2 separate regions of the Homo sapiens genome follow, and region 2 is linked to region 1. Evidence: promoter capture Hi-C in human tissues and cell types (Jung and others, 2019). All regions are on one chromosome and are shown on one strand. Each heading gives the region's core, a stretch centred on a gene start or on the middle of the fragment in contact. The rest is flanking DNA. Distances are from core to core; before and after follow the strand shown.

Evidence for each region. Contacts are between HindIII fragments. The study calls those that stand out against the background at their distance.
Region 2: a contact is called between a fragment that was not itself captured here and the fragment with the promoter of NUTM2G in region 1, in 3 of the 25 tissues and cell types used here (dorsolateral prefrontal cortex, lymphoblastoid cells and thymus).

Annotation. Positions count from the first base shown.
Region 1 is chr9:96,925,023-96,932,461 of GRCh38, reverse strand. It overlaps NUTM2G (NUT family member 2G), which reads right to left and starts at 3,619. Exons shown (of 7, transcript NM_001170741.3): 1 at 3,422-3,619; 2 at 44-740. The coding sequence starts at 3,437. It also overlaps a transcript of ZNF782 not described here. RefSeq lists enhancers at 1-639, 640-1,525, 7,368-7,439. The HindIII fragment of the contact is 14,444 bases long and covers 1-7,439 here.
Region 2 is chr9:96,875,696-96,883,134 of GRCh38, reverse strand. It overlaps a transcript of ZNF782 not described here. Among named protein-coding and RNA genes, the nearest start is that of ZNF782, 25 kb to the right of the region's middle. The HindIII fragment of the contact is 3,838 bases long and covers 2,717-6,554 here.

The DNA of each region.
Region 1 (7,439 bases), core at 2,370-4,869:
GAGTGAGCTGCAGGACAAGCTCCGGCGCCCCGAGGACACTCACATGAGGAAGCAGGAAAGCGCTTCAGTGTCAGGACTCTGGGGAAGGTGCCTCCGGGCCAGGGGCTTGTAGTGCTGCCAGAGTCGGAAGTTCTCATAGACACTCTTGGGTTTACAGGAGTCGTCCGGCCGGGCCTTGGCCTGGGAGGGAGCCAGGCTGCCCTCTCCATGAGCCCCTTGTGGCCATGGCCCAGCGTTCCCTGGGGACACGATGGGGGCCACCTGGGCAGCCGGTGGTGGTGGTGGAAGAGGAAGGCCATGGGACCAGCCTCCCTCACAGGCCTGGGTGCCCCCAACCACCTGGGCAGAGGTAACGGGCACCCCAGGAGCAGCTGCCAGGAGTAGGGGAGGTGGACACATGACACCTCCACAGAGGGTGCCTGGAGCCTGCCAGACGAGGGGGGCCTGAGTTAGGATCAAGGTCTGTGCCTGAGGGGGCTTCACAGGCCCCACTTCTGTCCTCATCTGGACAAAGACGTTGGAAGCCCCAGCCCCACTTGGGCCGCGGCCATCCTGTCCTGCCACTAGAGGGGTGCTGGGGAAGGCAGAGAGCACCAGAGGGCCGGCTGGAGGAACCACTGCAGTCACGAGGGGCGGCCTGTGTGTTGGGCCGGGAGAGGGTGTGGCAAAGGGCAGAGCCGTGAACACAGACAGGGAGGTGCCAGGGTTCACGGTCACGCCGGGTCCCAGCACTGGGTATGCTGTGGAGACAAAGGAAAGAGGTGAATGAGCTGGCGTCTCCAGGTCCACTCTAGTCACTGGGGAATCAGGGGAGTCCCAACAGCTGAGGGCATGTGACAGGGAAACTCTGCAGCTTGCAAGTGTCCCTGAGTGTGCATCAGATGCTCTGTTCCTCCACGGCAGAGTCGCTCCACTAGAGAGCCTGGCGCCAGTCACCAAGACTCCCTGACCCTTGTCTGCCAAGAAGAAACAGCCAAGCCTTTGCTGTCTCTGAGGGTCTCCCTCGGGTGTCCCTGGCAGACTGCACCAGCCTCACAGGCATCTCCCAAGCCGTGGGTCAGGGATGAGTCTCTCGGTGGCTTGGTGGCTCTCAGTGTGCTCAGCAGCAGGTGAGGGGCCTACCCCAGGGCAGTGCTCGGCATTCAGAAGGCCGACAGGAAACCAGAAGTTTCCGAATATTATGGCCCCATCTCCTCTTCAGTCTTCCTTTCCCTGAAGCTCTTGTAAACCCCTTTCTTTCCTAGCTCAACACAACAAAAGAAAACCACTGGATAGGCCGGGCATGCTGGTTCATGCCTGTCATCCCAGCACTTTGGGAGGCCCAGGCGGGTGGATCACCTGAGGTCAGGAGTTGAAGACCAGTCTGGCCAACGTGGTGAAACCCCATCTCTACTAAAATACAAAAATTAGCTGATGATGCGTGCCTGTAATCGCAGCTACTCAGGAGGCTGAGACAGGAGAATTGCTTGAACCGAGGAGGCAGAGGCTGCAGTGAGCCGAGATCGTGCCACTTCATTCCAGCCCGGGTGACAGAGCGAGACTCCGTCTCAAAAAAAAAAAAAAAAAAAAAAAAAAAAAAAAAAAAAAAACCACTGGATGGAAACTCGCCCAAGCCAGCGCCCTAGGAACCCTGAAGATAACCCATAACACATAACGCCCAGCATGCAAGTGATTGTCCTGGCACCACCCACACAAGTGTTAAATAGGGGTCAGATTCAGGCCACCCATTCCTCAGTGCTCAGTGGTCCCAGCTGCCACTCAGGAAGCTCAGTTCCCAGGGAGCAGATCTGAGAAGCAGTGGTGGAGTCCCCTGAGATATTGTCATTGTGTAGCCAGCAACAGCTGCACATGACTAGAACACAGCCAGCAAATGGTGAGCAGCAGGGCTATCAGGGGAGGTGTCTAGGGATTTTCTTTTTTTTCTTTTTTTTTTTTTTTGAGACGGAGTCTCGCTCTGTCACCCAGGCTGGAGTGCAGTGGTGCGATCTCAGCTCACTGCAACCTCTGCCTCCCAGGTTCAAGCACTTCTCCTGCCTCAGCCTCCTGAGTAGCTGGGATTACAGGCTCCCGCCACCATGCCCAGCCAATTTTTGTATTTTTAGTAGAGACGGGGTTTCACCATATTGGTCAGGCTGGTCTTGAACTCCTTGACCTCGTGATCCACATGCCTTGGTCTCCCAAAGTGCTGGGATTACAGGCGTGAGCCACCGCGCCCGGCCAGGGATTTTCACAGCTGCTAGTCATGTTACACTAAATAGTGGGACAGGGAGCCCATCTCTGGTCCTTCTCCTTTGAGCTCCCAGTAACTGAACATAGGGACCAACGAAGAACCAGGGGTTCTTGGGCCACAGGCCAGGTGAGGCAGAGTTGTCTGGAACTCATCCCTGTTCACTAGGACCTCATGCAGTCTCTAGCCAAGGGGAATAAGGGATACAGCGCATGCACCTCATCAGTCAGGACACACATCCTAGTTTGAATAATAATAATAATAGGACTGTCTTCCTATTTGTGCGCTACTCTCCTTCCTCTACTGAAAAGGAAACCAGCCTTTTCAGAGCCTTCCACTGAGAACCAGCAAGAATCCACACCTGTCGCCCGTTCATGAGGTAGTATAAATGGAACAGGAGCAAATTCTTCACCTCCACAGTAACACAAAGTACAGAGGACGGGCCACGAGCTAGCTGACGAGAGGAAGTGGGTCTGAAGACCTGAGCTTCCACCAAAGGGCAAACAATTCAGAACAACTCAGGAAACCCAGGCCCTGTGTTGCCTGAACTTCCCCATTCTGCCCCCACCCCTGTTAAATCAAAGCCAACAGCTACCTGAACTGACGGAGAAGCCATCTCTGGGGAGGAAGCTGAGAGGCTCTGGGCTGTGGCAGTTACAGTGGCCCCCAGCCTTGCCCACCCAGAGGCTGTCACTACATGCTCTGTCACAGCCAACCCACCCAACAGTTTTCTGGCTGAGACCACTTCTCCCCACTCCTCTCTAAGAACTAGAAAACTCCAGTCCAAATCCCTCTAAACACTATGGAAGGGCACCTTCCAGGTGCCTGAAGACACGGCACAGGGCTCAGGCTTGCCCGTCATTCTCCCTGGGCCACCAGCACAACACGATCCCACCACTCCCTACAAACACAATGACGTGACCTGTCCCCCTCTAGAAAGGATCAAGCCATCCTCTCCATCCTTTCCACTACACGGTGTATTCCCCCAGGCATCTTGGTCCGCCTCTAAGGAGCCCTCCTCCCTAACCACAGACTCAGGGTGCCATGGCCATCCCCAGGTGTGATGTCCTTGGGGACATCCAGTGCTCCCTCAACATCAGCCCTATAAGCTGTCCCCAGGGACAGTTCAAATTTGAATTCCCAAGGAGTTGAGGCAAGGCAGACTAGGATAATGCCCCATCCCTACAGGCTCACCTCCATTTGAAGCCATCCCCTCAGGCTGGGCACTGACCACCACTGTCTGGCAGCTTCCGCAATGAAAAAAGTCAAGGGCAGGACCCAGAGAGTGACCTGACTCAGCAGATCCTCCTGAGTCCAAGTGGAGCAGGGATAATTTGCATATAAACAGGTTTGGAACACAGGACCCCAGACATTCTGCAGAGGGGGAGGGGCAGTGGGCAGCCGGGCTTGGCGGGGGTGGGGGACATTCTGTGAAGGGCTCTGGCCAGTAGGCAAGAACCTGAGGTTCCCTTGGTTCAGTTGGTTGCCATCCAACTGGATGGCAGCAACACAGACAGTGTGCGCCTCTTTAGGCAACTTTTAAATTGTCCTTCTGACTCACAGCAAAAGCTTCTACCTGATGTCCCCTTTACTTCCATTCTTTATCAACAGACCTACTTTTGTGCCAATCAACCCATGCTCCTTCCCACTTTGGCTCTTTCCCACTCTTGATGAATTTCAACAGGGGCCACACTTACTTAACAAAATTCAGAACACGTTTTCAGTCTGAGAAACACAGGGGTTCTTAGGAAGGCAAGGGGACTGAGTGTTTGAAATCAGAATGGCCTCAGCTGATCCAGGCTATTAGGTGGCTGTGTGCTCATCATTGTTTAGGAAGCAGTCCTTGTGCCCCCAGGTCATGTATGTTGCTGGAATCTGTCCACACCAGTAGGCCAGCCTTACTTCCCGTCCCCTTTCTTAGGAAGACTCAGTCCAGGAAAGAGTGGCTATGTGACCTACAGCACCGAGACCAGAAATCCTTTCATTTTGTTTCCCAGCATATTGTGCTGGTGTTAAATGTTTATTTTGTATCTTTTACATGATTTTAACTTAACTAAGCAATACTTTTGCATGGTTCCAAATTCAAATTGTGCACAGTGGAATAGGCAATGACCAGCCTTCCTCCCACCTCTTTTCTCTGGCCACCACATTTTCTTTCCTGGAGGAAATAGGTGTTACCTGATTCTTTTTCATCTTTCCAGAGATATATTATGCAATCAAAAGCATAATGAAGCTATTTTTGCTGTCTAAAAATATTTTCAGTTTTTTGGGGGTAAAAATTAATATATTAATATGTTCTAGTATTCTTCTGATATTTGCAGTGACTGTATTTGTCCCAGTAATGTGGTTCCTCTCTTTATTTCTGTAGGTAAATTGCTAGAATGAGATGTTGGACTGTTTTTTAAAATTAAAAATACATGAAAGAACATAGTGGCCAGATTTAGCAAGTATGAATAAAGAATACCAAGTGGAATTTGAATTGAAGATAAACAGTGAATTAGTTTTTACTATAATTATGATCCATATGACATTTACAGTACACTTTTACAAAAAAAATCTGTCCTTTATCTGTGCTATTCACATTTCACTGGGATCTTGCACTTTATCTGGTAACTCTTCCCAAAAAAGTGTAACATATTAGGCAATTATTGTTAACTCTCCACTGTGAGAGTGCAAACTTGCAGTAAGGAGACTCAAGTGTGAATCTTGGCTGCACCACAAAAAGATTCTGCACCACAACCATTGCAGAAAACAATAGCAGGCTGATTTGATGAAAGGAAGTCAGGAGTAGCCATTATACTGTTCTCAGCTTCCAGGTTTAGTGGCAGTACGCACAGTTTTAAGGGACAGGAGAGCAGAACACCGTCTTTTTCTTTCCTAACATAAAGTGGCTTACAATTCCTAGAACTCTGGTTTCTCCAGGAGTTAGAAATCCACAACCCACGTCCATTCTGAGACAAGCAAGGATGCTAACCACCAATGTCCCATCCCCATTCTCATGCATCCCCTCGCATGTGTGAATCCTGGCTGGAGTCTCTCAGCTCATTGCTGTCCTCATCTTCATCACAAGTGTCATCACATGTGGTTCTCAGCATGGGAATTATTGTAGCCTGTCTTTAAAAAAATCTTCATTCTCATTTTCACACAGAATTGCTGTTTATCAGCGTCAGAATGACAGGAAAGAGCACTCATGTTCTGTGTTGTGAACAAGGGGAGTGTTAGGAAACTGGCCAAAGGAGATGAGGAGTGAGTACTCAGAGCACAGCAAGAAAATCTGAGACACAGATGTCACTCCCTGCTGGGCAGCAGTCTTTTGCACTGATGGGTGGGTGTTGGGGAAGGGAAGAGGCCTTCAGCCGGACCAGTGCACACTGTGAACATTCACTGAAACACACCCTGTTGGCACTTAAGAAGCATTTGCCCCTTTCGAAGACATTTGGACTCAAGAAGGCAGAGTTGCAGAAAACGTAACAGGCCACACTGCAGGGGCAGGCAGTGGATTGCAAGTCTCAAGCCCAGGGTTCTCCCCTCCTTGCCTGGGTTGTGGGAAAAAGTCATTTCCTAACTCCTATCCAATATCCTCATGAGTTCTCGGTTTTGTCCCAACTCTAAAACTGAATGGTCCAGCGAGCATTTCTATGAAATGCCTCCACAGTGGCCACTGGGAGGGGAGTGTCCTCCACACAGTGACTGCCTGTCTGGATGCTCCCAGGCCTTTTGTCCTCCGAGACAGAGCTGCCTCCTTACATGCAGCCCTCTTCTGCTGTGCAACTCTACCTCGATCTTAGCTGAGAAGATCAACGGAGAGCAATTCAAGCAAAATCATGGTAAACTTACCAAAACCAAACCAAACAAACAGTAAATGCTTTGGAGATCTTTCTGAGGACGCGATCTTTTATCACGGGGCAAAAACTTAAATGATTTTCAATCAGTAACTTCATCTAAGAGGGATGTTGAGGCAAAATATCACACTCAGGCACTGAAGAAGGGCAGAATTCTTGTTTGCTTCCTCCCTTGTCAAGTTAGTCAGTCAATGCTTTCTCAAGATGCTCACACATGGCTTTGATACAGGATTTGAATGAGTCTTTTTCTGAGCCACTGATACAAAAAGTATATTGTGGAAGTGTCTTGTTTCAATTCTGCAATCGCTTCTGTATGTGTTTGAAGTCCTAGACCCCAGGAGGAGAGACAATCAAATTAGCCAAAGGTAATTTGTGAAGACTGGCCATAGAAGGTGGTGGCTAAAAGTCCTCTGGCCCCTGCTCTCTGAGCATGCCCACAGAAAGTCCTGGGCCACACTGACTGCTGAGAAACATCATCTCAGGGCTTGGATCCCCTGTTCAGAGGACAGATGCTCTTCCACCCAATCACTGAACAGTAGAGGAATGGCGGCTCCATGCTGTGTCTGGCAGAGCTGTCAGTCTCTGCACTTGAGGCCCTAGGCCGTCATAGACGTGAAGGCTCTTCAGCGTCATCATGTGGAGACAGACGGTAGGAATCCTGCAAATGAGCAGAAAGGATCTGATGATGAAAGTTTGTTCTGAAGCTACTACAAACTCAAGTCAGTGAGTTGCTTCTGTACCAGTTTTTTTTTTTTTTTTTTTTTGAGATAGAGTCTTGCTCCCACCTTGAAGTGCAGTGGTGTGATCTCCTCTCACTGCAGCCTCCGCCTCCTGGGTTCAAGCAATTCTGCCTCAGCCTCCCAAGTAACTGGGACTACAAGTGCGCGCCACCACGCCTGGCTAATTTTTGTATTTTTGGTAGAGACGGGATTGCACCATATTGGCCAGGCTGGTCTCGAACCCCCGACCTCAGGTGATCCACCCGCCTCGGCCTCCAAAAGTGCTGGGATTACAGGCGTGAGCCACCGCGCCCGGTCAGACTCTCTCGTTTCTAGGAGGGACGGTCTTGGAGGCTCCAAGGAGAAGGCGTCGCCTGGCCCCAGGAAGCGCCCTGGTGAGGCGTCCCTCCATTTCCCCATCTCCTGCGGGGCCCTCCCAGGGCGGGCTCCACGCCTGCCCCGCGCGCCTGTGTAGGAGCCTCGAGGCGGGCGGGGTTCCAGCGCGCAGCCGGCCGCCCTCAACCGCTCCCAGCATCGGTTGCCGGTGGTTCGGGGCAGGGAGACGACGCAGCGCGAGCGGAAAGGGCGGTTACCCAACGGCCTTAGCTCTCATGGCGTCCTCCGTGGTGTTACCTAAAAATAAAGTTATTT
Region 2 (7,439 bases), core at 3,386-5,885, 50 kb after region 1:
GATGTCTAGCTGCTTTGTCTTTCCTTTTTTTAATGTGGCAATGCAAAGAAACTAAACAACTTTACTGCAACTGTTGTCTTGCAGAATTCTGTCTTTTCATTCTTCATCTCCTATTGTCCATTCTTCTCATGACAGCCAGTGTGGTGTCTTCTCTGCATTGTTCCTTCATGAACAAGGTAACATCACTAGTTTTCATGGATTATCCAAATCAAAGAGAGAATTCTCGTTTTAAGTCACTGACACATTTAAACCACCCCTCCTACAAGTTCAGCAATGATAATTAAGGTGAAGAAAAACTTCAGCTAGTCTTTTGAGGCCACAGTGTCCAAGGACAAGATGTACTTTTTAAATTTGAAATTTCTATAATGGCATTGACATTTTACAATAAGACGTAACTAAAATATGTAAGCATGCAGTTAAAACAATCATGGAATGCTCTTGCTACATGACTGAGACCAAGAGATTGATTCTTTCCTACTGATGCTTTCAGGAATATTTTCAATTAGAGGCTTGATATTTCCATAGTTTACAGTGATTAGAGATTAAAATGTATAATACTATCACCTTTTTAAATAAAATGGGAGTACATTTATAATAAATTAATATAATCTCTGTAATTTGCTAATTTACAATGGAAAAGAGAATCAAAAGATAATTCAAAATACCTGATTAAAGGAAGCCTACTATTTTAAAAAAGAAATGCCTAATTTTTTATTGGTGCTCAAACTTAAAAGGAATTTATCATATGAAATATGCAAAAGGAAATAATGCGAAATGTACTGGCCAATGGCTGCTAATATGGCTTTATGGTGAATCATAGTAGACATGTATGCTCGACCTCCAAATAACTAAAGCTGCTTCTGTCCAATATCTCAGAAAGTCATTTTTATTTTAAAAATGCAGATCTAGTAACTTTTCTCATAACCTTTAACATCCCTTTTTCACAGAGACTGTCTTAATGAATTTAGGCCTTTTTTGGTGAACACATTCTTTAGTCACCTCAATCTATATAAATATTAAATAGTTAACTATTGAAAGCCTGAACACTTGTATTAAAAATATTATTTCCTAATATTATTTTTTAGATTTCTGATTATATGTTATTACAATGAGTATACACACACACACACACACACACACACACACTCATACTTCCAAAATAGTTCATTTTATACAATCCAAGCTCTTGTGTAAATTAACAAGGAAGGCTTAACATTTATGTGGAAATGCAGAAGACGTAAATAACCAAAACAACTTTATGAAATAAAACAAAGCTAGAGGATTTACATTTTATTTAAATAATTAATATAAAACTACAGTATTTACGATAGTGTGATATTGGCATAAGAATGGACATATAAATAAATGGAGGAGAATATGAAGTCCAGAAACAGAAAATGAACATTTATGGTCTGAACAACTGATTTTCTACAGAGGTGCCAAGATACCTCAGCAAGGGAAGGATAGTCTTTTCCATAAATAATGATGGAACAATTAGATATTTGTAGAGGAAAAAAAGTTCAAGCCTTACTACATGTTCCATATCATACACAAAAATTAACACAAAATGGATTATAGTCTTTAATTTTTTTCCATTGGTTTATGCAACTTTATTGAAGAAAAGTAAATCAATTACCAGCAGAGCTATTGGTTGATCACTCATCCATTCACAATTTGTATCATTTACAACATAATATCTATTGGATGCACCTAAAGCTGTGCTTATAAGAAATTTAGAACATTAAATGTTTATATTAGAAAAGGAAAAGTCTCAAATTAACAATGTAAGTTTCTACCACAAGACAGAAAAAGGGAAGCAAAATAAACTAAAAGCTAGAAGAAGAAAGGAAATGATAAAGATAAGAGGAATCAAGAAAATTGAAAACATAAAAACAAAAGAGGAAATCAACCCAAAAGTTGTGGGGGGTTTTGGAAGAGATAAATAAAATTGATAAACATCTAGCAAGATTGACAAAGATGAAGAGAAGATGTAAATTACCAACGTTAGGCAGAAAACAGGGGTTCTAACTATAGAACCTACAGACATTAAAAGCTTAATAAGTGAATAATATGAACAAGTCTATCCAAAATTCAATAACTTAAATGTTCTAATTGCTTGAAAAACACGAAGAAGACTCACCAACTATAAAATAGATAATTTAAGTAGTTTTATATTAAAGAAATGGAATTCATAGTTTAAAACATGCTGAAAAGGAAATCTCCAGGCATAGATGTCTTCCTTGGGTAATTATACCAAACTTTTAAAGATGAAATGACATCAGTTTTACATAAATTATTCCAGAAAACAAAAGTGGAGAGAACACTTCCCAGCTTATTTTACAAAGCCAACATTATGCTGATATCAAAGCCAAAGACAGTACAAAGAAGGAAAACTATAGACCAATTCTTCTTCTGAACATGGACACAAAGTTTACAACAAATATCAGTAAATCATAGCTATTAATACATAAAAAGAAAGATACACTACAACTAGGTGTGGTTTATTCAGCAAATGCAAGGCTGGTTCAATATTTGAAAATCAACCAATGTTATCTGCAATTTTGACAGACTAAAGAAAAAATAAAACACCACAGGATCATATCAGTTGATGCGGCAAAAGCATTTGACCAGATCAAACATCCATTTATAATAATAACTCTCAGAAAACTAGAGCTAGAAGAAAACTTTCTCAACCTAAAAAACGAGGAACCACAAATTAACTAAAGCTAGCATCACACTTGATGGCTAAAGTCTCAATGCTTTTCCCCTAAAATCAGGACCAAGGCAAGTGTGTCTGATCTCCCCACTGCTATTCAACATAGTACTGGGAATCCTGGCCATTACAATAATGTAAGAAAAGAAAAGCTATACAAATTGGAAAGAAAAAATAAATCTATCCTTATTTGCAGATTGCATGGTTGTCTAGATAGAAAATCCCAAGGAATCTAAAAAAAAAAAATCTTAAAACTAATAAGTGGGTTTAGCAGGATCACAAAATGCAAAGCCAACACATAAATATCAACCATATTACGTATTAGCCAAAAACAATTGGAAACTGAAATAAAAAACATAATGTTATTTACAGTTGCTCCAAAAAAGCTCCCCACTACTATTCAACATAGTACTGGGAATCCTGGCCATTACAGTAATGTAAGAAAAGAAAAGGCATACAAATTGGAAAGGAAAAAATAAGTCTATCCTTATTTACAGATTGCATGTTTGTCTACACAGAAAATCCCAAGGAATCTACAAAAAACAAAAAAAAATCCTAAAACGAATAAGTGAGTTAAGCAAGATCACAGAATGCAAAGTCAACACATAAATATCAACCATACTACATATTAGCTAAAAACAGTTGGAAACTGAAATTAAACATAAGCTTATTACAATTGCTCCAAAAGAGCGAAACAAATCTAACAATGTTCCTCTTTTTAAGGCCATAGCTCTTGTTGGGATGGTCTTTTTTGCCAGGCTCTGGTAACATTTCCTTCCCCTCACATCAACCCTGGCGGTGATAATGACTTCACTGTCACTAGTCACAGGGCGTCTCACCAACTCTGCCCAGGCTTTGTAAAAGTCCCTTTTATTAGATGCCTTTAAGTGTCCCATTGTTTCTTTTTTTGTTTGTTTTTGAGACGGAGTCTTGCTCTGTCGCCCAGGCTGGAGTGCAGTGGCGCGATCTGGGCTCACCGCAAGCTCTGCCTTCTGGGTTCACGCCATTCTCCTGCCTCAGCCTCCCGAGTAGCTGGGACTACAGGCGCCCGCCACCAGGCACGGCTAATTTTTTGTTGTTGTTGTTTTTGTTTTTTTAGTGGAGACAGGGTTTCACCGTGTTAGCCAGGATGGTCTCGATCTCTTGACCTCGTGATCTGCCCGCCTAAGCCTCCCAAAGTGCTGGGATTATAGGCGTGAGCCACTGCGCCCGGCCTAAGTATCCCATTGTTTCTTAACAATTGACTATGCCAAAGTGAGGATTTTTATCTCTTTTATTCCTTGTTATTATGCCAGCATCTACAATGATGCCTGTCACACAGCAGGTTTTCAATAAGTGTCTGTTGAATGAATATATGTTTGGACCACTTTCTTTCCATTAAAACATGAATAGTAATTCTTTAAGCATTGTGTTTTTCTTTTTTTAAAAGAAATTTATGGTGCACCATTTGATGTTTAACCTTAAGCATTTCTATAAATCGGTTACCAAAAATGCTTGCTATCTGGTGTTGGAGTGGATGTGAGGAAACAGCATAAACTGATACAAGCCTCTTTGAGGACTCCCTGTTAGCATCTGTTACATGTTCATTTGTACACATTTTAACTGCACAATTCTATCATTTTGGCTCTTGTGCAAAGAAATAATCTCACAAATATCAAAAGATGCATGAACAATGCTATTTGCCACATATTATTTATAATAGTGAAAACTGGAAACAAACATCCATCACAAAGAATTGATTAAATAAACATGATATTCCCTACAATGTAGTTAAGGAACAGAAAGATTTCCTTCTCTATAGCCTGATCAGATAACTCGATTAGGAGACAATTTTACATGTTAAAAGAAAATTGTAAAGAAGTTGTAACCATGTTTTTAAAAATGCATTGTTTGCTGTAGCCTAAAGTGCAGAGTTAGGCATCAGTGGACAATTGGTCGTACTTGGGAGGTGGGCTGGATATTAGGAGGGGGAGCTACATTATAGCTTTATGCACTGCTATAATCAAATTTGCAGTGTCTAAATTTTTTAAAGAAACGTTTAAATGTATTTACTTTAAATAATAAGCAAGGGAGTCCGGACGCGGTGGCTCACGCCTGTAATCCCAGCACTTTGGGAGGCCAAGACAGGCGGATCACCTGAGGTCAGGAGTTGGAGACCAGACTGGCCAACATGGTGAAACCCTGTCTCTACTAAAAATACAAACAATTAGCCGGGCGTGGTGGCGCGCGCCTGTAATCCTAGCCACTGGGGAGGCTAAGGCAGGAGAATCTCTTGAACCCGGGAAGCAGAGGTTGCAGTGAGCTGAGATCGCAGCATTGCACTCCAGCTTGGGCAACAAGAGCGAAACTAGGCTTAACAGCCTTTTTCAGTACAGAACTTAAGGAGAATAAAATAACAAGTTAACAAGTTGCCAAGTTGCCAAGCTTACTACAAAGCGAACAAATATGGTTGGGTTGACTGTTTATTATACTGTTACCTTTAGTCTTTACGAGTTCAAGGATTTTTATATGGAAGACTGTATTTAATAAAACAGAAGCAGGGTATTTGAGTATTAATAAGCCAATTAAGTTGTTTATAGAAAATATATTTTTTTGTCCTTCCCCCCAAAAAGCACACATGATACCGAGTAAGCTTCATTTTTGCACAGACGGAAAATTCCGTCTGATGAAGAGGCACATCCACCGGGAACGACCCCAGGCAGGGAGACCAGTTTCTTTCCCGCTGTCCCGGGACTTTGCCGGGAAATTGCTTCAAGACCGCGGACCGCAAGGAACGGACCCCGCCCGAACCCCAGCCCACGGGGCCCCCAGATCTCGCGGAGCGAAGCCTGAGGACGCGCTCGGACGCGGGCCTATGGGGAAGCCCCCAGTCTTGGCGGAGCCAGGCGGGAGACGCGCGGAGGAAGCGGCGCGGCAGGGCGCTCGCTGCAGCCCCCTCTGCCAGGTACCCCCAGGAGGCTGGAGCCACGCGGGTCCGGGGGCGGCTTCGCCCCGCTAAGCACCCCGAAGCCGGGCTCCTGGGTGCCCCGCCAAGATTCAGAGGTCAGGGCCTCTACGTCTGGGCGCGTCCCCTGTCCCTGCGCAGCGGCATCTGGGGGTGTTCCTTCGCCCGCGGCCCCCAGGAAAGTTGCTGGGAAGCAAAGCTTCACGGGTGTGTTCACGGGGATCGCACTGACTTTGTGACCAACCCTTGGGTGAATAGGTGCCACTATTTAAATTTATCATCTCACGGAAGAAATTATTGATGTTACGGAATAATATTGAGCAGATACATGCTCAATATGTATAATTTAGTAAAAAGATGTTCCTATGATATTATGACCGTATTTCCCTGGTTTGGTTAAAAAAATCAACAGGTGCTCATGTAAAGTTTAAGTAGGGACATCTCTGGGAGATCCATGATTTGCCTGATAGCCATTTTTTTTTCTTTTTTCTTTTCTTCTTCTTCTTTTTTTTTTTTTTTTTTTTTTTTTTTTTTGAGTCGGAGTTCCGAGTTCAAGCAATTCTCCTGCCTCAGCCTCCGGAGTAGCTGGGACTGCAGGCGCCCGCCACCACACCCCGCTAATTTTTTGTATTTTAGTAGAGACGTGGTTTCACCGTGTTGCACAGGCTGGTCGCGAACTTCTGAACTCAGGCAATCCGCCCGCCTCGGCCTCCCAAAGTGTTGGGATTACAGGCGTGAGCCACAGCGCCCGGCCATAGCCATTTTTTTCTTATTTTGCGTTGTGCGTATTTTTTGGTTTTTGTTTCTTTTGTTCCCCTTTCCTGAAACCCTGTTGGTCAGGGTCACAGGTACTATTCTTTTATAGTAATGCTGTGCTCCGTGTGCAAGTATTTCATTCACATTTCACAGCCTTATTCCCAAGACATATTTGTATGTACCTTAACGTCTAGGGGCTGCTTTGAGTTGAAAAGGCAAACTGATGGAGGGAGGATCCTTGTTTTTCTTTCTTTCTTCCTTTGTATTGAAAAATGTTTAAGCACACAGAAACGTAGGAAACGGTAAAATGAGCATCTATCTATAGCCATGCATGTCCTTGATTTAAGAAAAGTTAACCTTTTGCCATATTCGCTTTGTTAGTTTTTGCTGAAAAATTGTAAAGTGAATTAACTATCCTTTCAATGTTAAATGCTTCCCTGTGCATGTCTTTATAAAAACTAGTATTTTCCAATATAACTCCACTTAACAGTTAAGAATAACGGCAATGTTCTTTAATATTTATAATTGCCAGTACACATTCACATTTCCCAAATTGTTTCCAACGTGTTTGGCAGCTGTTTTTTCCAATCGGGATTTGATGGAGGACCACGCACCGTATTCGGCAGCAAAGTTCAAATTTAACCCATAACCTCTAGGGGCTCTGGCAGAACCTGGCCAGGCGAGGCAGTCAGGAACATCTTCCAATCATCCAATAGAGAAAACGCTGCGAAGTAAGTCGTGGCGTGGAGGTTTCTGGGAAACGTAGTCTTAAATCCGAATGGCTCGCGCGCCACACTCTAGGAAAGGGTCTTCTGGATGACGTCTGCGCATGTGCAAGCTTAGCTCGCTGCTTCACGCCTAGCTAAGGCTGAGAGGTGGTCCCGGGGCCCTTGGGTGTCGCGGGCGGGGAAGGTGCTCACCTGAAGTGGGACGCGGGGAAACCAGGTCTCCCCACAGCCTGTCAACTTCTAGTGAGAATGGGGCTTGTGATTCAGAGGGTGAGAACGGGAAGCCCGGGGGGACCCC